Linked DNA regions of Homo sapiens: region 2 is linked to region 1. The links are contacts of gene promoters, found by promoter capture Hi-C in blood cells and fetal thymus (Javierre and others, 2016). All regions are on one chromosome and are shown on one strand. Each heading gives the region's core, a stretch centred on a gene start or on the middle of the fragment in contact. The rest is flanking DNA. Distances are from core to core; before and after follow the strand shown. Region 1 holds the start of MRPL19 (mitochondrial ribosomal protein L19). Region 2 overlaps LOC107985905 (a long non-coding RNA gene).

Evidence for each region. The method cuts DNA at HindIII sites, captures the fragments that hold promoters and counts their contacts. A CHiCAGO score of 5 or more calls a contact.
Region 2: a contact is called between a fragment that was not itself captured here and the fragment with the promoter of MRPL19 in region 1, in 1 of 17 cell types (total CD4 T cells). The highest score is 8.8, in total CD4 T cells.

Annotation. Positions count from the first base shown.
Region 1 is chr2:75,645,531-75,651,237 of GRCh38, forward strand. MRPL19 (mitochondrial ribosomal protein L19) reads left to right here and starts at 1,253. Exons shown (of 6, transcript NM_014763.4): 1 at 1,253-1,380; 2 at 1,572-1,689. The coding sequence starts at 1,278. It also overlaps the pseudogene SUPT4H1P1. RefSeq lists enhancers at 1,053-1,347, 1,183-1,482. The HindIII fragment of the contact is 2,636 bases long and covers 1,065-3,700 here.
Region 2 is chr2:84,311,379-84,316,554 of GRCh38, forward strand. The region is part of intron 1 of LOC107985905 (a long non-coding RNA gene); the gene reads right to left. Among named protein-coding and RNA genes, the nearest start is that of SUCLG1, 150 kb to the right of the region's middle. The HindIII fragment of the contact is 3,714 bases long and covers 1,717-5,176 here.

The DNA of each region.
Region 1 (5,707 bases), core at 3-2,502:
ATTTCTTTTTTTGTGTGTGTTTCTTTTTCTGTTTTTTTGAGACGGAGTTTCGCTCTTGTTGCAATGGCGCGATCTCGGCTCACTGCAACCTCTGTCTCCCAGGTTCAAGCGATTCTCCTGCCTTAGCCTCCCAAGTAGCTGGGATTACAGGAGCCTGCCACCACACCTGGATCATTTTTTTTATTTTTGGTAGAAACGGGGTTTCACTATGTTGGCCAGGCTAGTCTCAAACTCCTGACCTCAGGCGATCTGCCCGCCTCGGCCTCCCAAAATGCTGGGGTTAAAGGCGTGAGCCACTGCGCCCGGCTGTGTGTTTGTTTCTTAGAGATACGGTCTCACTATATTGCCCAGGCTGGTTTCCAACTCATGAGCTCAAGGGACCCTCCTGTCTCGGCCTCCCACAGTGCTGGGATTACAGGCATGCCTGGCCACGCCCAGTCATTTTCCAAATTTCTTAACAAGACTTACAATTTACCTTTTCCAGCTTTACTTCTCCCACCTATCCATACCCACAGTTGCCCAGCCCAAATTCATTTGGGTTCCTCAAAGGGTTAATGCTTTGTGTAGTCTCAAGGACTATGGGCCAGCAGTTCTGTCAGGAACTATTCTATTCTCTTTTCTGTGCATTCAGCAAAGAATTAGAAAAATTAGCTGGGCGTGATGGTGCGAGACTGTAGTCTTGGCTACTCGGGAGGCTGAGGTGAGAGGATCTCCTGACATCAGGAGTTGGAGGCTGCAGAGCCATGATCGCGCCACTGCACTCCAGCCTGGGTAACAGAGGAAGACCTTGTCTCAACAAAACAAAAGATGTTAGTGAGGGCCCAGGTAGGTGCTAGGTGCTGGGATAACATGGTGAGCAAAAAGAAGACTTTATCCCTTCCCTTGCCTCATTATAGTATAATGGCAGATTTAAATACTAATCTAATAATTACACAAGAAAGAATTGCAAATGAGATCAGAGCTGCCAATCGAAGGCACCCAGTGGGAAAGACGGCCTACAATGGGATTTTCGCATAGCGAAAGCTTGTCTGAGAAGATAGAGTGGATTCATAGGGGGAGGAAAAAGCTTTCTAGGCTGGGAGAACACCCCTGTGGAGGGGTGTAACTTGGCGCATTACGAGGAACTAGAGAAACGTGCACTTTTCCTAAGACATCAGGAAAGGAGCGAGGAGAGACTTATCCATTTTGTCCCATAGCAGCCGCCATATGGTGGCAGACAGCAACAACCTCGTCGCACTGATTACTGGGAGCTGTAGTCTTGACGTGAGCTAGCTGGCATGGCGGCCTGCATTGCAGCGGGGCACTGGGCTGCAATGGGCCTAGGCCGGAGTTTCCAAGCCGCCAGGACTCTGCTCCCCCCGCCGGCCTCTATCGCCTGCAGTAAGTGGAGCCGGACTTGCGAGCTGGGGCGCGTTAGGGGCCCAGGGTCAGGATGGGGGAGGCGAACCTGGAGATCAGAGGCAACCCCAGCGTTGGTCCCCCGTGGGACGCCGGGTTGGGGGAGATTGCGGGGCTCTGCGGGATCTCAGGGTTGGCACGAGAGTTCTGACCTCCGTCGTCCGCTCCCGCAGGGGTCCACGCGGGGCCTGTCCGGCAGCAGAGCACTGGGCCTTCCGAGCCCGGTGCGTTCCAACCGCCGCCGAAACCGGTCATCGTGGACAAGCACCGCCCCGTGGAACCGGAACGCAGGTGAGGCACTGCCCTGGCGCTAGGCCGGCAACTGGGGTCGGTGCGCGCGTGAGCGCGTTCGCGTTCGAGGTCCCGGCTCTAAGGTGGGGGCTGCACCTCCCCCTGCACGAGCAGGTGTGTAGGATTCAAGAGCCAGCGCACCACACTGTTCTTTCTTTCTCACTTCTCCCCAAGCCAGCATTGAACTTCTTTGCAGTTTTATTGAGTCAGAACTTCAAGTAGGGGTTCCCCATATTTTAAACTCTTTTCTCTGTGGTATTTGTCCTGTACCAGAGTTTTTCTCTGAGGTATATCCTGTTTATACCTGTTTACGTCCAAGAGCTCTTCTTTTCTCTCAAAAGACCCTTAACCCTGGATAGGAATCGATTGGCCAACTTAAAAAATTTGCTATGGTTTAGGTTGGAAGTTTTGGCAGACAAAGCACAGTAAAACTGGCCACTAAATTGTGTCTGAAACTTACTCATCAAAATAGTGTGAATAAAAACTTATATGAATGGTGGTAATCTTGGAGGTACATGTAAATTTAAAGGACTTAAGGTCTGAAAAGAGAGCTATGTAGCAACCTTTTTAAAAAGCCAGTTTTCAGAGGAAAAACCTGATATGATTATAGGCTTTTTGAAAGGGCTGTAGATTATTGATTGGATTACTTCTGGGATTTTTAATTTTTTTATTTTTTAAATTTTTTTTAGACAGAGTCTCTCTCAGTCTCCCAGGCTGGAGTGCAGTGGTGATTTTAGCTCACTGCAGCCTCAAATTTCTGGGCTCAAGTGATCCTCCCGCCTCAGGCTCCAGAGTAGCTGGAACTACTGGTACCACGCCTGGCTTTTTTTTTTCTTTTCTTTTTTTAACATTTAAAATATTCCACGGATTTAAATAGAAGTAAACTTGGAGTTAGAGAACTAAGAGATTCAGAAAATATTTCTTCATAAAACTTTGCTTTTGAGGGTAGAAATGGAATATCTCTTTTAAACAGTGGCATTTAATAGAATTCACTTAAATAGGAATGTAAATTATATGCTCTAGAGAACAATTTGACAGAATTTACTAAGTTTAAGTTGTGTATACCTTCTCACTCAGAAAGCACACAACTTAAACTCCTAACGTGTATGTACAAGGAGACAAGCACGAGAATGAATGTAACAGTATTTTTTGTAACAAAATTTAGAGGCAGCCTAGATATCCATCAGTAGGTGAACAGGCAAATACATTCATATGACAGAATATTGTATAGCAGTGAAAAATGAGTGAATTAGAGCTCACTTTTAAACATGGAAGATTTTCACAAATCTGTGTGTAAAAAAAACCTTTAGAATCATTAATGTAGTAGGATGCTATTTTTATGAAGTTTTAAAACTATAGGCCGGGTGCGGTGGCTCACGACTGTTATCCCAGCACTTTGGGAGGCCGAGGAGGGCAGATCACGAAGTCAGGAGTTCGAGACCAGCCTGGCCAACATGGCGAAACCCCCATTTCTACTAAAAGTACAAAAAAAAAAAAAAATTAGCCAGGTGTGGTGGCATGTGCCTATAATCCCAGTTACTCGAGAGGCTGAGGCAGAAGAATTGCTTGAACACAGGATGCCGAGGTTGCAGTGAGCCGAGATCGTGCCACTGCACTCCAGCCTGGGCGATAGAGCAAGACTCTGTCTCAGAAAAAAACAAAAACAAAATTATACGAAACAATATATGTTGCCCAGACATACATGCATATGAAAAGTAAAAAGAAATGTAAGGGGGGCCTTCTGAAACTTTGCCAAACAGTCAAACCTAACTTTACCAGTATTGGTACCAGTTGATATTATGTGTCTCCTGATGTGACAGAATAAGTTGTTCACATCATCTCCCTGTAATATTCTTACTAAAATTATTTAACCTTAGTCTAGGCATGTGGAAACAATCCAGAATCCAGAGATGAGATAGTAGGCCTTGACTGTTCAAAAAAGTTAATGTTATAAAAATACAAAGTTGGAAAAAAGTCCTAGTCTGAGAGACTAATGACCAAATATGTGTGAAGCTTGATTGTATTTTGAATTGGGCAACGAATAGATGTAAAATACCTTCCCAGGATAATGACATACATTTGAGTATGAACTCTGTATTAGACCAAGCTTGTCCAACCCACAGCCCAGGACAGCTTTAAATGTGGCCCAACACAAATCTGTAAACTTTCTTAAAACATATGAGATTTTTTTTGTGCCTTTTTTTTTTAAGCTTACCAGCTATTGTTGGTGTCTTTTATGTGTGGCTCAAGATAATTCCTCCAGTGTGTCCCAGGGAAGCCAGATGATTGGATACCTTTGTATTAGATTATGTTATCAAATTAATGCTGACTTTTATAGGTGTCAGAAGGGTATCGTGATAATATAGGAGCAAGTCCTTATTCTTAGCATAAGCCTTCTAAATTATTGAGGGATGAAATGCCTTGCTGTTCCATTTTTTTGAGACAGAGCCTTGCTTTGTCATCCAGGCTGGAGTGCAGTGGCATGATCTTGGCTCTGCAACTCCTACTCCTGGGCCCCTCCCTACTCAGTCTCCCAAGTGGCTGGGACTACAGGTGCCCGCCACCATGCCTGGCTATTTTAAAAATTTTTTTGTTGTAGAATGAGGTCTCACTATGTTGCCTAGGCTGGTCTGGAACTCCTGGGCTCAAACGATCTACCCTCCTCGGCCTCCCAAGTGTTGGGATAACAGACGTAAGCTACCACACCTGGCTGACATTTTCAAATGGTTCAGAAAAAAATGATATGTGTATATAAAGCAAATATAGCAAAATTTTAGCAGTTGGTAAAAGTGGATGAAAGATCTACAGGTGTTCATTGTATTACTATTTTTTGGTAGGCTTTAAAATTTTCAAAGTAGAAAATTGAGGAAGAGAAAGAAATTCATGGGAATAATCACCAAATTTAGGATAGTAATGAACTATCCTAAATACACAGGGGCTTCCACAATATTGATAATTTATTTCTTGAGGTGGGTGGTAAAGACATGAATATTCATTGTACTGTCATTTATACTTTTTATGTAGATTAAATATTTCATAATGAGCTTAAAATCAGTTAAAGAAGAAAAAAAGAAGATTATTATTTTTTAAGCAAAAGGATTTCACCTTTGTAAGACTTACACAATTTTCACATAGCTTCATTTCTACAATCACAACAATCCTGAGGTAAACAGGCAGGGTCTAATCATTCTCTTTTTACAGAGGGAGAACCAGCAACTTAGGGAAATCAAAACGGGGACACTAACAGGATTTCTGTGGAAATTTAAGTAAATGAGAATTTATGGTGAATTTTTTATTCTAAAACGAATACCTCACCTTGGCCAAAATGGGACATTACCCAAGGTCCCCTACTAGGCCAGAGGAGAAAAGGAAGGACTTACCTCCTACAGAGGCACAAACAAGGCAGACTAGGACCCAGCAGTTGCCTAAGGCCCAAGGGTCTCCAGTTAGGAGAATGTGAAATGCAGGGATGTGAGACTGGCCTAAGGTATAGGAAGAGCGGTAAACAGAAGAGAAGAGACGAGGAGGGGGAAAAGCAAGAATTATTAAACGTGGTCAAGGAGCGAAGAGCACTATGAAGCCTCAGGATTTCTTCAAGGGATACTGCTGTGCCAGGTCTAGAGGGCAGAAAGATACAACCACGAGACCCCAGGACTACCAAGCTGATGGGATTACCTAGCCTCTGGACAGCACCTTCTGATTGGAAGCAAGGAAGCACACTAGAAAGGCTGCAGTACAGAAGGCTCAGAGACAGTCAGTAGGGAGTAGAAGGGCCTCTGCTGTTCTGGGAAGATTCTTACAGCATAAACAAGCTCTTACTGTGCCTAAGAGAAAGGGAGAGGGAGGCAAGGAATGTATCATGGCCTTAAGAACTTTCTAGAGGTTCATATTTATTGGCATTTGACCTAGAGTCCTTGCCATGGGCAAGGTGCATCCCTGGGCCATGGATAGGAAAATCAGCATCCTACTTTCTCTTCAGTTCGATCTGTTAATCCACCAACCCAAATCCCTCCCACCC
Region 2 (5,176 bases), core at 2,324-4,823, 8.7 Mb after region 1:
TACCTACTGGCACTTTGGTTACTGAAGTTCTTACGTGCAATTGCTGAAAAGCAAAGAATTGCTGGAATTAGAAAAATACCATAATTTAACGAAAGTGTCAATGAATACCATAAACTCAGAGTTTACAGGAGCCTTCACATATTCATACACTGCATATTTATTGTCTACTATGTTTTAGATGCTGAGGATACACCTTGAAGTTGACAGACAAGGTCTGGCTTTTAGGAAGTTTCTATTCTATTAAAATACAATTTAATCAGGCACAGTGGCTCACACCTGTAATCCCAACACTTTGGGAGGCCCAGGTGGGAGGATCACTTGAGTTCAGGAGTTTGAGACCAGCCGGGCAATACAGTGAGACCCCATCTCTAAAAATAATAATAAAAATAAAATTTGTAGCATGCCATTGATTTGCACTGGGTTCCTAGCCCAACAGCTCAAACCAATATGTGGTAATTCATGCTAAATGAAACAAATTAATTTAGAAGTATACTCATGTAACAAACAGCTGAACTTCAGTCAATGGTAGGTGGTCAGCTGATTCAAGTAAGACAAAATGCTGAGCTATAACTAAGTTGTTCTTTTTACCTCACTTCCCTTTTCTGTCCATAAATGCTGCTGTCTGATCATGTAGCACACAGAAGCTCTTTGACCCTGTTCTGGTTCTGGGGGCTGCCAGATTCACTTCACTAATCATTTTTGTTGTTGTTTTTTGGGTTTTTTTGCTCATAGAAACTCTGATAAATTTAAACTTGAGATTTTTCCTTTTTAACAATTCTAATGGGGAAGACAAGCAAGGGACAAATGTATAAATGAGATAATATGCATAATACACATCTTTCATTCTCAGGCCTGTCTGCATGGAGCCCTGTAGAGGAGGGGCTCTGCCAGGTGGTGCTCCTGCTCAGTCCCCCCTGCTTCAGAAGAGTCACTTTCCTTTCTAGCAAGGCCGGCGGGTCCTCTGCAGCTCAGTCCATGGGGGTCAGCTGGCATGTGCCACTACTGCTGCTGCTGTGGCCCCCTGTCCTCAGAAGCTTATCTGAGATCTGATGGAGTCTGAGAACCAGCTTGCCTTTGAGGGGCACCCAGAGGTCTTGGTTTCTCTACATCAGAAGGGTCCTTTGCTAATGAGGAGTTCACCTTGAGAGGTCTTTACCTCCCCAAGGCTACTTGGCTTCCATACATTTTTGAAGTATCCAAAAGCCCATCCTGTGAGAGATGATCACTTAAACACATCTTGTTGCTTCATATCTGCAACCTCAGATATCCAAGCCATTAGAGGTGTTCTGGGATTCACCCTAGAAAGAGGATTCCTGAATGTGTCATTTCTGTATGTGTCTGAATAAACAGTCACAAATGATTAGAGCTTACTGGGTATACTAATATATCCCACAGTCTGATTTTAAAGCTACAGATAGGTGTTAATGTAGAGAGACACCATCTATAATCCGATGAATGAATTGAATGAATATATAAGAAAAAATTTGTAATAAGCACATCAGTGTTAGCATACACATGAGAATGTCAAAGGTAGTTCAAACTCCGTTTAAACAATCTGCTCTCCTAAACATTGCCTTGTTCTTAATATCCTTTTGTAACCTCAGTAAAAAAAACAAACAAAAAAATACCACCTATCTCCTATGGATATAAGCACAAATATCAAATGAATAAGCTGAAAATTAATGAGTTTTCTTTTTCTTTAAATGGCTATACAAAAGCTTCAGTCTTCCCTTGTCAAATCATCAGGAATTTCAGGCACATAACTTTCATTCTGATGGGTTCATCTCACAGAATAAAAGACTTGCTTATAAAACAGCATTATTTTCTTCTCTTATTGAAAAATGTGTACACACTTCAAAGTTAAAAACAAAAGTTTCTTAAAGCACAAAGAAGCAACTTAAAATCACTCCAAAATTCTTAGCTAAAATACAAAGATTAATTATATGGAGTCTTTCCTTCCAGTCTTAAATGTTATATTTTTACAGGAATAACAATTTTTGCTAAGAACCTGAACTAGCACACATCAGGACAGAGTTGCATAATTAGTGGCTTGGAAAAAGATAGCAGTCACTCTTTAGCTACCAAATTGGCAAGATCAGAAATGAATGGCACCATAAAGATCTCACGTCTTTCATTAATGCTTAAAGCTGAGACTTTATTTATAAGGAGATTCTAAATTCCAGGCCAGTCTCACCGGGCTGTCCTTGATAGAGGTAGCCTGTTTGTCATGTTAATGAAGAGAAAATTTCCAGTTCTGAGTTCCACAAAGACTGTTCTCCCCCACCTACAGCTAAAGAGGGAGAAAAATGTCAGCAGGTAAGGGGTAGAATTGGAGTGAACCACTTCCTTACCTTTGGGAGCAGCTGGCCTAATGTCAATGTCAAGGGTGGGGCAGTTCCAGCTCCATCAGAGGTGACTGCACCATGACAGGCAATGCTCATAGGCAAATCCACAGCTCAGCACTTGACAGGCTGGAATATTATCTATCCCAGTGCTTCTCAAACTGGAGCAGCATCAGAATCCTGGCAGAGGGCTTTTAAAGCACAGATTGGGGCCAGGAAGGGTGGTTCACATCTGTAATTCCAGCACTTTCGAAGGCCGAGGTGGATCACTTCAAGCCAGGAGTTGGGAACCAGCCTGGGCAACATAGCAAGACCCTGCCTGTACTAAAATATATATTTAAAATTAAAACACACACACACGCACACACACACACTCACACAGATTGCTGAGCCCCACCCCAGGGTTTCTGATTCAGTAGGTTTGAGAATTTGCATTTTTTTATTATTATTATATATTTTTTTAAAAGATGGAGTCTCACTCTATTGCCCAGGCTGGAGTGCAGTGGCAGAATCTCAGCTCACGACAACCTCTGCCTTCTGGGTTCAAGCAATTCTCCTGCTTCAGCCTCCCATGTAGCTGATACTACAGGCATGTGCCACCATGCCCAGCTAATTTTTGTGTTTTTAGTAGAGACGGGGTTTCACCATATTGGCCAGGCCTGTCTCAAACTCCTGACCTCAAGTCATTTGCCCACCTCGGCCTCCCAAAATGCTGGAATCACAAGTGTGAGTCACTGCGCCTGGCCAAGAATGTGCACTATAACAAGTCACCAGGTGATGCGAATCCCAGGGGGTTCCAGGACCACGCTTTGAGAACCACTAGTCTATCCTGATGTTTGCACTGTTTAACATAGAAGTTCAAAACCCGGGCTTTACAGTCTGTCAGACCTGGTTTTTATTCCTAATTCCATCAATTAATAGCTATGTGAACTTGGGCCAGTAACTCAATTAATCTGAGCCTCTATTTTCTCACAAGTAGAATAGGAATAATTGCAGGGTTGTTCTAAGAAATGGATCATGTAATGTGTAAGTGCTTACACTTATGAAGCATTGCCAGCTTCATAATAAACATTTAATACATGATTATTAGTCTTTCTATTCAAGCCCTACCTCAACACCCTCCTGGAATCTTTCTGCACCTGTTCCTATTGATCTCTTAGTCCTCTAAAATGTTGGTTCACTTGCTTTCCAACCCGCTCTGTGGTAAGGAAACTCCATTTCCCCACCCCCATAGAGCCTCCCGACTCCACTAGCAAGTGGGTAATCCTCTGCTGCCACCTTGTGGCCTTCCTTCGCCTCACGCATTGCAGGCTAACCTTGTCAAGGTGGCGTTTCTGGGACTGCAATCCAGTAGCTGAGCATAAGCAAAGGAGCCAGACGTGGTGCCCGCTCAGTCTGCTCAGTCGATGTGAGGACTGTGAGGAAGGGTTCCCAACAGGACAGTCCGAAGGACACCCAAATCCTGAGGGCTACAGAATAACAGAAAGGAGCTGGAATCAGCACCAGGAGAGCAGGAGAGCGACCTGGCTGTGATCTCAGGTGAGTCTAGAGGCCCCGCTGAGCTCACTCAAGGCCTGGCCAGTGCCCTTCTATGCAGGACCCCAGGACACCTGCCTGTAGACATTTCTGAGGATTCCAGGGATCTCGAGCATATCCCTTCAGATCCCTCTTGCTACTGAGGTGGCCAAAGTCATGTGTGTCTAGGACAAGGCTATTAGAGGGTCCCCAGTAGTCCCATGTTGAGACCATAGTCCCAACTCCGAATGAAGACTGTTCATTGTAGCTGGTTTGGAATAGAAACCCAGTACTTCGGTGAAGAAAGCAGCAGGACAGAGCGATGTGAGCAATGAAATGAAGACTCAAGTTGCTCTTGTCTTTTATTCCCATTACTCCTTTTCCCTGGTACAAGTGTCTTAATGAGGGGGGTTGACAGCTCGATGGTGGGGGGTGGGTACAAATACAAACGGTATTTTTTTTTTTCAGGGATAGTAGGAAACACCTCTTTCCAGGAGCACATCACACCTGAGGTTCACGGTAGTGATAACTCTCTCCCCTCCTTGTGTTCTCATCCCTTAGAGCAATGAACAATGAACCAGAAGGTAGGGTGGAGAGTGAGGATGACACCTGGGATGGCAGCCACAGACCAGGAAGGCTGAGCTGGGAAATTGGTGCATTTTTTGGCTTCTCTCTTTAGAACATGGGTTATTTGGGGCCTTTTCATCCTCATTTTTGGGCCCCCAGGCACCAATTCTGAGAAACAGGAAAAGTTGCACTCAGCATCTCCTCCCTAGACCATGCAATCCGGCACACACTCAGACCCCTGAAAGAAATAAAAAGCAAAGCATTCCGATCCTTCTCCAGGGGATGGCATTTGTTCTCCTTCTGCAGAGGCTCATTTTAGATTTGCCTCAATGTAATATGCATAAGAAGTTAAGTCACCAGGGGCACCCCTTCCCCTCTCTAGAAGAAAGCTAAGACAAGGAAGGGGTTAAACAAAGGAGTAGGGCAAAACAGACACAGGCAGAGGAATGTAAGTTCTGCTGGTGAATCTGGGAGTAGGGGGGGTTATCTACCAACAATTTTCTACCCCTTAACCAGACATAAGCCTTGAAAATTGACTTCTTTAAGGCATTTAATCATGCTATCTCACTTATTATAAAGCATGCAACAGTTTGACCAAGGTCTTTTTTACATTCATTAATTCACATGGGTTTTAAATCTTGCAACAATTCTCTTGCATTGGTAGAGCAAACATCACTTATTCACTGATAAGAAAAATGGAAGCTCCAAGATACTAAATGGCTTGTCCAAAATCACAGAGCATTAGTCTCTCT